2 separate regions of the Homo sapiens genome follow, and region 2 is linked to region 1. The links are contacts of gene promoters, found by promoter capture Hi-C in human tissues and cell types (Jung and others, 2019). All regions are on one chromosome and are shown on one strand. Each heading gives the region's core, a stretch centred on a gene start or on the middle of the fragment in contact. The rest is flanking DNA. Distances are from core to core; before and after follow the strand shown.

Region 1 (5,523 bases), core at 1,825-4,324:
TCATATATATAAAATTTAATTTTTTTGAAGATAAAGTTAATAAACATAAAACTACAAAATCGGGAAATTTCTTCAAGGAGGTTAATTTCTCTGTGCTTAAACTGAATCGGGAACATTTTGGCAGAGGCAGAGTTTACATTTCAAGTCCTAACTCACAGTGTGGGGTAGCCTCAGATGATATTTCAGATCATTAACAAGCAACAGCATTTTCATTTTTCCAATATTATTTATGTGTGATAAGAAAACTCCAGCACTTGTATCACCCTTAGCATTTTACTGTGAGCTTTCACAGGGATGATCCCATTTAATTGTAAGCATAAAATACAGTGCATGCACAAAAATGCCTCAAAATTGTCAGAACCCTCCTATATAGTCTGATGTATAAAATTGCTCAGGCATGTTGGTGGGGGAGTGTCAGATCAGGGGACACCTGGAAAGGCATGTTTAAAAATACCTTCACCACTGCTCCCTAGAGCAGTACTAATTGCTGAATGTTCCAAAGAGGAGGAGCTAAAATACAATTTGCTATTTGAAAAGCAAAGCCAGCACACTGTTTTCTTTCACCAAACATTGAAGCTGAAAAGCATCATCCCACAAAATGATTTGGAATATGCCCTCTGTGCATTAAAAAACAGCCTGCATTTCCACTTTCAAGGCACAGAATGGGAAACTACTTTGGAAAGTGTTTAGAAAGCTGTTGAATAATGACGAGGTATGTTTGAGTCACTTGGGTCCCCAGTTACTGGAGGAGGAAAAGGAAGAGAAATTTCTCTTTTCCCTAAACAGTCAACAACCTTCCCCCTCCTCCAATAAAAAAAAAAAAACTAAGGAATAGTGGAGCCCCTGTAGCTAGCAAAGATCAATGAGTGATGGCCTAATTAGGCTCACATTAAAAAAGAATTCTCCACAATAGACAATAATTTTCTTCTGTTTATGAACCATCTGTGACTTATTCCTTGGGCAGCTTTCATTTTTATATTCTTTATGTCCTCCCACTCCCATTTTTCTTCTTGACTCCCTCCTTTAACTAAAAATGCTGTATAATTGACATACATATTTTACAATAATGGGGGGAAAAGTTTTTCCCCTCTCTTAACCTTGAAAATCTGAGCCAGACATACAATATTTTTCTTCTCTTAAAAATCTGATACATTGCTTTAAAGGGATGTGGCTCTTGATTATGTGCAATTTCTTAGAGAAAGTCTACCTTCTCCTTCTGTCAAACTAAAACTTAACTATGAAAAAGATTCCTGACATATGCAGGAAGTCTGTGTCTCACCTTCTTGTCCCAAATCATCTGAAACTCTGCCTGCTCTTACTTGGAAGGCTCTGTAGGAACGTTATCCAGCCAGCCTTCTATGGAACCAGCCATCAAACGGCCCCAGACACCTGCTACCAGCTTGTTTCCAAGGGGAGAATAACAGGCTGTCGGTTACATTCGGTTCTTGATGGAAGAAGGGCAGTCAGTGTCCCCTGTAAAGAGTGATCTCTGATTGACCACTTCAGGAGGTGAGTAAGGGTGAGGTCCTTACAAGGTTGTGGCTGGGTCGGACGTGGCCTCCAGCCATCTGATCCTGATATAAGAATGAGGGGTGGTTTTAGAAACTGCAGCCTCTCTGTTTGGACAAAAGGTGAATCCCTTCTCCATGACTCCATCCTGCCCCACTCCCCATTCCCCTGACAAGAAAAGGAGATAACCTTGCAAAACTAAAAATTACAGAATTCTAAAGAATCCAGGTTGAGCTGTAAGGTTTTCCTAGACACCTTGCGTCAGGAATCAGCTGTTCTCCTGTAGCTGATGGGAAACAATCAAAACAAGGATTTCCCTCTGGGCTCCACTGGGAAGTTAATAAATGTCAGAAGTGAGGGATTTTCTGGAAGTTTGTGGCTGGCGAACGTCAGAAAAGATAGATAAAGGACTCAGAGACCTGAAGTCACCTGCTTTCCTCTCTCTAAAAGCAGCCTTAGACATCCGTAAAACAAGGGAAGCAGAAATGAAAAAAAAAGAAGAGATAGAAAAGGAACAGAAGTCGAGAGAAAAATGAGGAAAGATGGAGAGAGGAAAGAGGCTCACATTCTTTCATCTCCCACTAAGAATTAGCTTCCCCCAACAAGAGTTAGGAGAGGGAGGAAATAAGTAATTCCTTAGTTAATGTCCACTTCCCTTCGAATTTCTCACTGCAGTTAGGATTTTTTTTTTTTTCTTGTTCTTCTTAACAAGCCACCTGTGAAGGAGGGAGAGTATTTGCTTTTATGTGACTTGCAGCTCGGGGCGTTGATTCTTTTGATAAGTTCAGTCCTTGCCAACCTTCCCCCCTCTCCAAACAGGAACCATTTCCAAGACAGCGCACACCTGCCAGGTTAGGGGGTGCGCTTTTCCATCTTTTCTCTCTTTGGGGGAAGGAAGGGTCAAAGTGCTGCGAAAGGCCCTTCTTGGGGATGGGGGGCAAATACGAACCATCATTTAATCCGCTGGCGCCGCTGCTGCTGTCACTGGCTAAGGCCGCGGCGACCGACGCACAGCAGAGGCAGCACAGCTGGAGCGCCTGCAAGAGAAAAGGTGACATCGCGCGTGAGGGGCGCGGCGGGGCTGGCGTCGGGCGCCCCCTGCCACCCGCTCTCGGAGCTCCGCTCGGCGGCACCTGCCTTGGCCACGCGCCCCAGTCCCGCCAGGCCCCTCGGCGGGCCCGAACCCGCAGCCGGGAAGGCACACGCGAGCAGGAGGGCGCACTCCATGGTCAGGTGCGGACGCGGCGGCTGCGGGTGGCCAGACGCGGCAGGCGGAGCGCACGGGCGGCGCGCATTCTTTCCGCGGCCCCGGAGCTCGGCGCCCCAGGTGCGGCTCCAGGTGAGAGCCGCCGCCGTTCACATCGCAGCGGGGGCGCGCTGGGACCTCCCCTCCTCCGGCCGCCTGCGCGCCCTCCCTTCTCCCGGCGCGGGCCTGCCGAGCTGCAGTTTGCGGCACCCCAGAGGGTACGGGGGGCTCCCTGGGCCGGGACTGGAGCGCAAACGGTTGGGAGACTGTCGGTGTCTGCCCGCCCGTCTGTGCGTCTGTCTGTGTCGGTGTGAGCGTCTGAGGCGATGGGGAAGACAGCGCCAGCTGGCTCCCCCAGCGCGCCGGAGCCGAGCGCCCGCCTCTCCACCGCGCGGTGATTGGCGACCAGCGGCTCCCGGGCTCGTCCGAGCCCCCGGGCTGGTGCAAGGGCGTGGGATTCCCGGCTCCAGCTCTGAGGGAGGGGGCGAAGGGGGCGGGGAGGCTGGGTGGGAGTGATAGGGAGGGAGGGACCGACCGCCATGAGAAGGAGGGGAGCGCCCAGGGTCAGGCTTGGAAAACGTAATTTAAGCGCACTGGGAGATGAGTTCGGAAGACGAAAGGCTCAGGTGAGTGGCGCGACTTTTTCGCTGCCTGTGCAGACTTCTCATTTTCAACTCTTCTGGCAAAGAGTCAAGATAGCGTCCTCAACACCTCCTAAGTGCTGGGAGCTATCCCCTGCTGTATCGCATTTGCCTCAGGCCCTACCTTTTTCAGGTGGGAATTATTAATTCCTTGATAAAGATGAGGAAAAGGAGGCTCAGATGCGCACAAGCTGACCTAGCTTCCCAGAGTCAGCAAATCTGAGGCAGCCGGGAGGACCAGAACAATGAGCTGTCACTGTCTGCAGCATGTAAAAACTCATGGCACGCGGGGGCCTCCCTCTTCTCCCGGATCTCTCTCTCTCTTCTTGACGTGACCGTGCTTCCCACTCTTCGAGATTGAATCTTGGCCCCAGATACCCAAACCCACAGAAATCAGTTATAACAAACAGCGCACGCCATCACTAGGAATGTGCATCCAGTTTGCTGTGTGCCTGTTCGTTTACTCAAGACATTTATTTGATCCTTTGATCCCTGTTTGCAGAGGTGAACAAAATACAGTCTCACGGGCCAGTGGAAACGAATCTGATTGGATAGCTCGACAACGGTAATAGAAGCAAAATGAACACAAATACTAAAAAGGAAAAGAATAGTCTCCTAAATTAGATGGCAGCAGAATCTAATTTAGATGGGATAAGATGTGTGTGTGTGTGTGTGTGTGTGTGTGTGTGTGTGGGTGTATATATACACACACACATATATATACACACACACACGCATACATACACGTGCAAGGCATCTGTTAGGAGCTGACACTTAAAATAAGGCCAGAGAGAGTGGATCGGTTTTATAAGGGAAGAGGGGAGTAGGATCTTGCATGTTAGGACAGGGGGCACAGCATAAGTGAAGGTCTCAAGGTAGTTAAGTGATTGCCACGTGAAAAGTGTTACAGGCCAGAGGAAGAAGCAAACACAGCAGTTGCTGGGTCAGCTGGACCTTGTAAGCTGGGGCGAAGCATGTTGGAAACCATTAGATTTAAATGAATGTGGGTTTGTGTATGTGTAGGAGGCAACATCATATCCAATAATAAAAAAATGTGAACCATTTTTTGAGCGAGTGTAGGGATTGGACGAGCTGAGGCAGGGTCAGAGAGAAACAAACCACGCAGCTGTTGCTGGCATGAAGGGGTACAATGACAGTGTCTTGCTTGGACCAGGGTAGTGGTAGTGGAAGTAGATGTATTACTCTGCTCAGTCCTGTGGGTACTGAAGTAGTTAACATGAGGTCTATGTCAAGCCTCGATTAAGTGATAGCTCAATACACATAGTCGGTTTTATGGAATGCAGCTGGGAAGAGGTAAACCCAGGCTGTAGCGGCAGAGAAGGTGATGTGTCTGCCTAAGGAACATGAAGCTAAGCCTCACAGAACATCAGGGCTAAACAAATCATTTGGGTTTCCCTACTTAATCTGGTTAAGCTCTGTGGCCTCTGTTTTATAATCTGTAAAATAGGAATCAACATGCTACATCAAAAGGATAGCCTGAGGGGTAAGTGAATATATTTTTCAAAGCACATTATAAGTGGACTTTAAGAAGTGATGGTGTATTTCTGTTATTTCATACATCCTGTGTCAAACTTGAATATACGTCAAAATCACCTGTAATGCTAGCTTAAAAATGCAGATTTCCAGGCCATGAAGCACTGTGATTCTGATTCCATGGATTTGGTGTAGGGCCCAAGCATGCATTTGTAGTAAGCACTTGTGGGTGATTCAGACACAAGTGACTTAAGTGCTTCATATGATTCCATGAAGAACTGGACACAAGAGGAAACTGGACATCAAAGACATGCAGTAAAACACTGCTGGAGGTCACATCACCAAGCAACGGACTGAATAAAACAGGAGACTGGGATTGACAGCACTGTCAGCGACATCATCAGGTGAACACTGACGGAACCTGGAGGGTGAAGGGCTTGTCCACACTCAGCTAAAAATAACCATGGCCCTGATTTGTGTCTCTCCATTAAGATACATTTGCATGAAATTGTCCATATTTTTCTGATCCTCCTCTTTTAGGGCTAACAATATAGGTTACTTGCCATGGTCAGGGCTGAAGTCTCGGAGAACAACCCTTAACTATGCTCTATGCTCAATTGTGGAATTTCTCAA
Region 2 (5,523 bases), core at 2,044-4,543, 53 kb before region 1:
GTTCACCAATTCAAATGTTTAACTCCAGCCTTCGTCCATTCTGAAGGCTCAATCTCTTATCCTCCTGCTCCACTGAAAAGCAGCAACAATCTCTTTTTGGTTTGGCTAGCATCATGGGGAGAAGAACGCTTGCTACTGGCCTTAAAGAGTAAATGAATGGCTATTGCTGGGAGAACTAAGCAAAGTGGACTTTATGGAGAATGTGGCAGAATAGACTGTGACCATGGACTAGAGGTGTCACCTTATATGCTGGCTATCTGTTTATTTTTATTTTATTTATTTTTTGAGACAAAGTCTCACTCTGTCACCCAGGCTGGAGTACAGTGGAGCTATTTCGGCTCACTGCAACCTCCACCTCCCAGGTTCAAGCGATTCTCCCACCTCAGCCTCCTGAGTAGCTGGAACTACAGGTGCGTGCCACCACACCTGGCTAATATTTTGTATTTTTTGGTAGAGACTGGGTTTTAGCATGTTGGCCAGGGTGATCTCAAATTCCTGACCTCAAGTAATCCACCCACCTCGGCCTCTCAAAGTACTGGCATTAAAGGTGTAAGCCACCGTGTCTGCCCCTATCTGTTTAAGATGAGTCAGGTAAAGGCCCTCCCCTTCCCAGTGAACACCTGAGCACTTCAAGGTCACTTCACAGATGTTCACTGAGTCCTCTCCGCCTGTGGTTCACGCAGCTGCATCACTGGGCAAAGTTGATTTGTCCAAGTAATCCTGATCTCCAATCTTGGCATGCAGTGTCTATGCACTCTCAGTCTCTGTGACTTTCTGAGTCATGCTGATAACGGTAGACTAGAAAAAAGGTTCCAAAAGTCTTGCTGCCGAGGTCCTCAGAAATGCTTGGCTTTCTTCTCTTCCCTCACCTGGGATGTTCAGCTACTTCAAATACTCCAATAGGCTCAAAATGAATTATCCTTTCACTTTACTCACTAACCCACTGGGGCTCCAGAACAACATTAACTAACATGACTTTGACTATATGCAGTGGTTTATGCTCCTGACACAAAGATTAACAGATTCAGTCTCTGTCTTCAAAGCCCTTCAACTATAACCGTCTGTACGGATGTAAATGTCATCTAGCAGCTCTTAATAGATATTAATAACATATTGATGAAAATTGATTTAGCTAATTATAATCTCTACTGAAATAAACACTTAATGACTTCAACAGCTCAAATCCCATGAGACCAGAATACAGCGTCATGGCTGTATTCAAAACTCTGTATTGGTTTGGAAAGTATAAGCAGATTCTGTCCAAGTTATGCCTGTGCCCATTCTCAAAAGAGTATGTACCTCTAAGAAACTCTTTTTAAGCTCTATGTACTAATAGCAAAATGGTTGATATTCTTAACATCTACTGCATACATTTTAATATTAAAAAATTAAATGTAAAAATGTTAAAATGCATATAGTTTATAAGCAGCCATAACCTATGCTTCAGCATTTATAAATTAATCTCAGTGGTTTAATCATAATCAACAGATGTTGGTATGGCCCCTTCCTTCTTATTCTCCCTGCCTTCCTTTAACATACCCATCTGGGGGTCAGTGGTTCCTATGCACCAGGCACCGCACATAGCATTTTATCTGCAGAATTTCAACTGACTCTCACTGCAGCTCTATTTGTTTTTTGTTGTTTTAATTTTATATTTTATTTTATTTATTGAGACAGGGTCTTGCTCTGTCACCCATGCTGGAGTACAGTGACACGATATCAGCTCACTGCAACCTCCACTTCCTGGGTTCAAGCAACCCTCCCTGCCTCCGCCTCCGGAGTAGCTGGGATTACAAGTGCTGCCATCATGCCTGGTGAATTTTTGTATTTTTAGTAGAGACGGGGTTTCACCATGTTGGTCAGGCTGGTCTCAAACTCCTGGGCTCAGGTAATCCGCCTGCCTTGGCCTCCAACAGAGCTGGGATTAGAGGCGTGAGTCACCATGCCTGGCCTTGCAGCTCTACCTGATGGGTACTTTATTAACACTTCTATATCAGGGGGCTGTCTGACTCCATGGCCTGCCCACACTCTTAAAAAACACACATTCTGTTCAGATTCAGGAAAGGTTCCAGAGAGGGTGGGGGTGGGGGACAGCTGAAATGCTGGACTCTGAAGGTATGACTCTTTAACAACAAACCAGTTTTGGGCTGGCATAATGGCAGAAGGTCCTAGCCTCCCGCCAAGTACCTGCTGTTCCTTTCCCTGCTTCAAAAGGACCAGAAAAACAAAGAGATGCAAGTAAACTCAGGTCATTCTCAGAAGTGAGTGCTGAGGTTAAGTGGCATTAAAATCAGAGAGTCGGCTGGGTGGGGTGGCTCACGCCTGTAATCCCAGCACTTTGGGAGGCCGCGGCAGGTGGATCACGAGGTCAGAAGTTCGAGACCAGCCTGACCAACATGGTGAAACCTCGTCTCTACTAAAAATACAAAAATTAGCCAGCTGTAGTGACGCACGCCTGTAATCCCAGCTACTCAGGAGGCTGAGGCAGGGGAATCACTTGAACCCAGGAGGCGGAGGTTGCAGTGAGCCGAGATCATGCCACTGCAGTCCACCCTGGGTGACAGAGCGAGACTCCATCTCAAAAAAATAAATAATAAATAAACAAATCAGAGTCCTCTCAATTTTCACACCAAAAAGTATGAAAAAAGAAAGTCCTGTGTTTAGTGGAGACACTGAGAAAGCTTCCCCCATGGATCCAGACATACCTGGCTCAATTGTTCTCTGGAATGTGTCCTTACTGGTCATCACCAATCTAGTTCAGATTTCACCCTGAAATGCTCTTATTCTCTCTTTTGTGGGGTATATTCTACGTACTTTCAGGGCAGAACTGGACTACTCTGCCTTGCAACAGCCGCGCCACATCCTGAATGCCAGAGATACTCCACATATATTTGGGAGAGACATATCCACAATAATAAAAGATACCATATCTTCCCAGCCCCTGAGATAGCCAAATACACACTAACAACCAGTTTTTGGTTTTTTGTTTGTTTGTTTGTTTGTTTTTTTGAGACAGAGTCGCTCTGTTGCCCAGGCTGGAGTGCAGTGGCGCGATCTCGGCTCACTGCAAGCTCCGCTGCCCTGGTTCATGCCATTCTCCTGCCTCAGCCTCCTGAGTAGCTGGGACTACAGGCGCCCGCCACCACGCCTGGCTAATTTTTTGTATTTTTAGTAGAGACGGGGTTTCACCGTGTTAGCCAGGATGGTCTCGATCTCCTGACCTCGTGATCCGCCCCTCTCGGCCTCCCAAAGTGCTGGGATTACAGGTGTGAGCCACCGTGCCTGGCCCCTAACAACCAGTTAAAAGGACAGATACTGAAGCTACATGACCTTTACAAGTGGTTTGGTCATGAAGACTTTCTCAATCTAGGGAAGATGAAAGAAAGCTGTTTGACACCCTTGTGCCTCATAATCCTCTTTCCTCCATGCTTATGAATGTGATCATTTCAAAGGAAGCTTAAGGTTATCATTTGGAAAACACATGACTGCCACAAAGGCTGTTGGTGAACTGTGAATGACCAAGACGACAGCTAGCATGTCTCGATTTAATGGAAACCAGACTTTCCATGAAGTTCACATGGGAACATGCAGCCAACCTTCCCCCTGGATCATTCCAGGCTTTGCTGCTGGGTCTGCTAATAACACTCCTCTTCACACGTCAGCATCCTTGGAAAGCGGCGGCTTGAATGTCTGGGAGGAGAAGATCCTACCTCATATCCATGTAAGTTGTGTGCTTTAATGTGAATTTTGTGATCCAATGTTGTGTTCCCCTCCTCCAATCCTTCTTTGCTCCAAACTGACATCCTATGGAATGTGGCATTATGCAGTTAAGAATACTGACAAATTGCGATGAACAACTAATCTCTTGAGCTCCTCTCTCTGTCCCTCCTGTGTTCTCATTCCAGTCTGGTCATGTATTGCCCCAAGCCTAGACTTAGCAGTGGTCTCCTATCTCCTCTCCCTGTTGACAATCTCTCTTCTCCCTTGCTCCAGAGTTGTTTTTTCCAAAGCATCGCTTTTAACGGGTCATTCACCATCATGCTCTATCACTACAAGATGAATTCTTGACCAAGAGAAATGGATTTCAAGACACTTTGCAGCCCCGTCCAATCCAAATGCAGCATCTAGTAGCTTCTCTAGCATCTTCTACCTCTTATTTTTTCTTTTAACTGAATTCCAGCTACATTCACTCCATTGCTGTTCTATAAATAAAAAAGCCAAGTTCCCATCTCAGATTTTTTTCATTTGCTGTTTCCTGTGCCTAGAATGCTCTTCCCCTAGATATCTCACTTCATGTAGGTTTTTGTCCAAAGGCGACCTCTTTTTTGTTGTTGTTGTTGGAGACAGAGTCTCCCTCTGTCACCCAGGCTGGATTGCAGTGGCGCAATCTCAGCTCACTGCAACCTCCACCTCCCAGGTTCAAGCAATTATCTGCCTCAGCCTCCCAAGTAGCTGGGATTACAGGCACCCACCACCACGCCTGGCTAATTTTTGTGACTTTAGTAGAGATGGGGTTTCACCATCTTGGTCAGGCTGGTCTTGAACTCCTGACATCGTGATCCGCCCTCCTTGACCTCCCAAAGCGCTGGGATTATAGACCGGAGCCACCGTGCCTGGCCCAAAAAGCTGACTGGGGAAACAAGGTTGGCTTTGTTTCAATAGGATGCTTCAAAGGTCACCTGTTCAAAGCATCCTTTCAAATGAAACAAAGCCAACCTTGTCATTTTCTCAGTCAGCCTTTTTTCCCCCATAACAGCCTTTATCATGACATGAGAGTGCCACACGCAGCTGTTTCCTTCTGTGTTTACTGTTCATCCCTCCTATTAGCTCCTTAAAGGCTGGGACTTTGTGCCTGTTCTGCCGACTTCCCTATGTCCATTGTTTGGCAGCTGGTAGGAGCTCTGTAAATATTTTTGGTATTAATCAACTAAAAATAAAGCAATATGTATGGTGCTAAGGGAGACATAAAAACAAGCAAGACTTCAACGTCTACATTTAAGAAACTCCTCTACTTCTGGAGCTAAACACATCCAATTAATCAGAAACATTATATCCTTTTCCCATTTCACCATTCTGATTTACACAGCCCCCTCGTAGGCTTCCATACCATTCACAGCACATATCAAGGAAACAATTATTTCTCTAGTTTCTCTCTCTTTCCCTGTAACATAAATCCCTGGCAAAGCAGAGTTGATGTTGTATTTGATTTTGTGCCCTTAGAACTCAGAAGGTACTGGCGTGACACTCAAATCATACTGACTGAATAGGGGAATATGCAAAATTCTCTAAGAGGACAAAGTTAGGGCAGACCATCTCTGAGGGTAGTGTTTGAACTTCTGTACATTGGGGAACGTCTGAAGGTTTTGAATGGAAAAGCCATAAAAACCAATGTACGTTATAGAAAACCCTGGCTAACACCCAACTTATGGGGCATTTCTACTGCCTGTAGCAGTGAAGATTGTACTAATTTAACCCTTTATATTCTGCCTGGCATTACTGTGAAATATGACAAAAATTTAGACA

The links. The method cuts DNA at HindIII sites, captures the fragments that hold promoters and counts their contacts. A contact is called where the count stands out against the background at its distance.
Region 2: a contact is called between a fragment that was not itself captured here and the fragment with the promoter of ADAMTS18 in region 1, in 2 of the 25 tissues and cell types used here (adrenal gland and mesendoderm cells).

Annotation. Positions count from the first base shown.
Region 1 is chr16:77,431,960-77,437,482 of GRCh38, forward strand. It overlaps ADAMTS18 (ADAM metallopeptidase with thrombospondin type 1 motif 18), which reads right to left and starts at 3,075. Exons shown (of 23, transcript NM_199355.4): 1 at 2,647-3,075; 2 at 2,459-2,546. The coding sequence starts at 2,736. RefSeq lists an enhancer at 2,771-3,271. The HindIII fragment of the contact is 10,424 bases long and covers 1-5,523 here.
Region 2 is chr16:77,379,222-77,384,744 of GRCh38, forward strand. The region is part of intron 3 of ADAMTS18 (ADAM metallopeptidase with thrombospondin type 1 motif 18); the gene reads right to left. Among named protein-coding and RNA genes, the nearest start is that of ADAMTS18, 53 kb to the right of the region's middle. The HindIII fragment of the contact is 5,751 bases long and covers 419-5,523 here.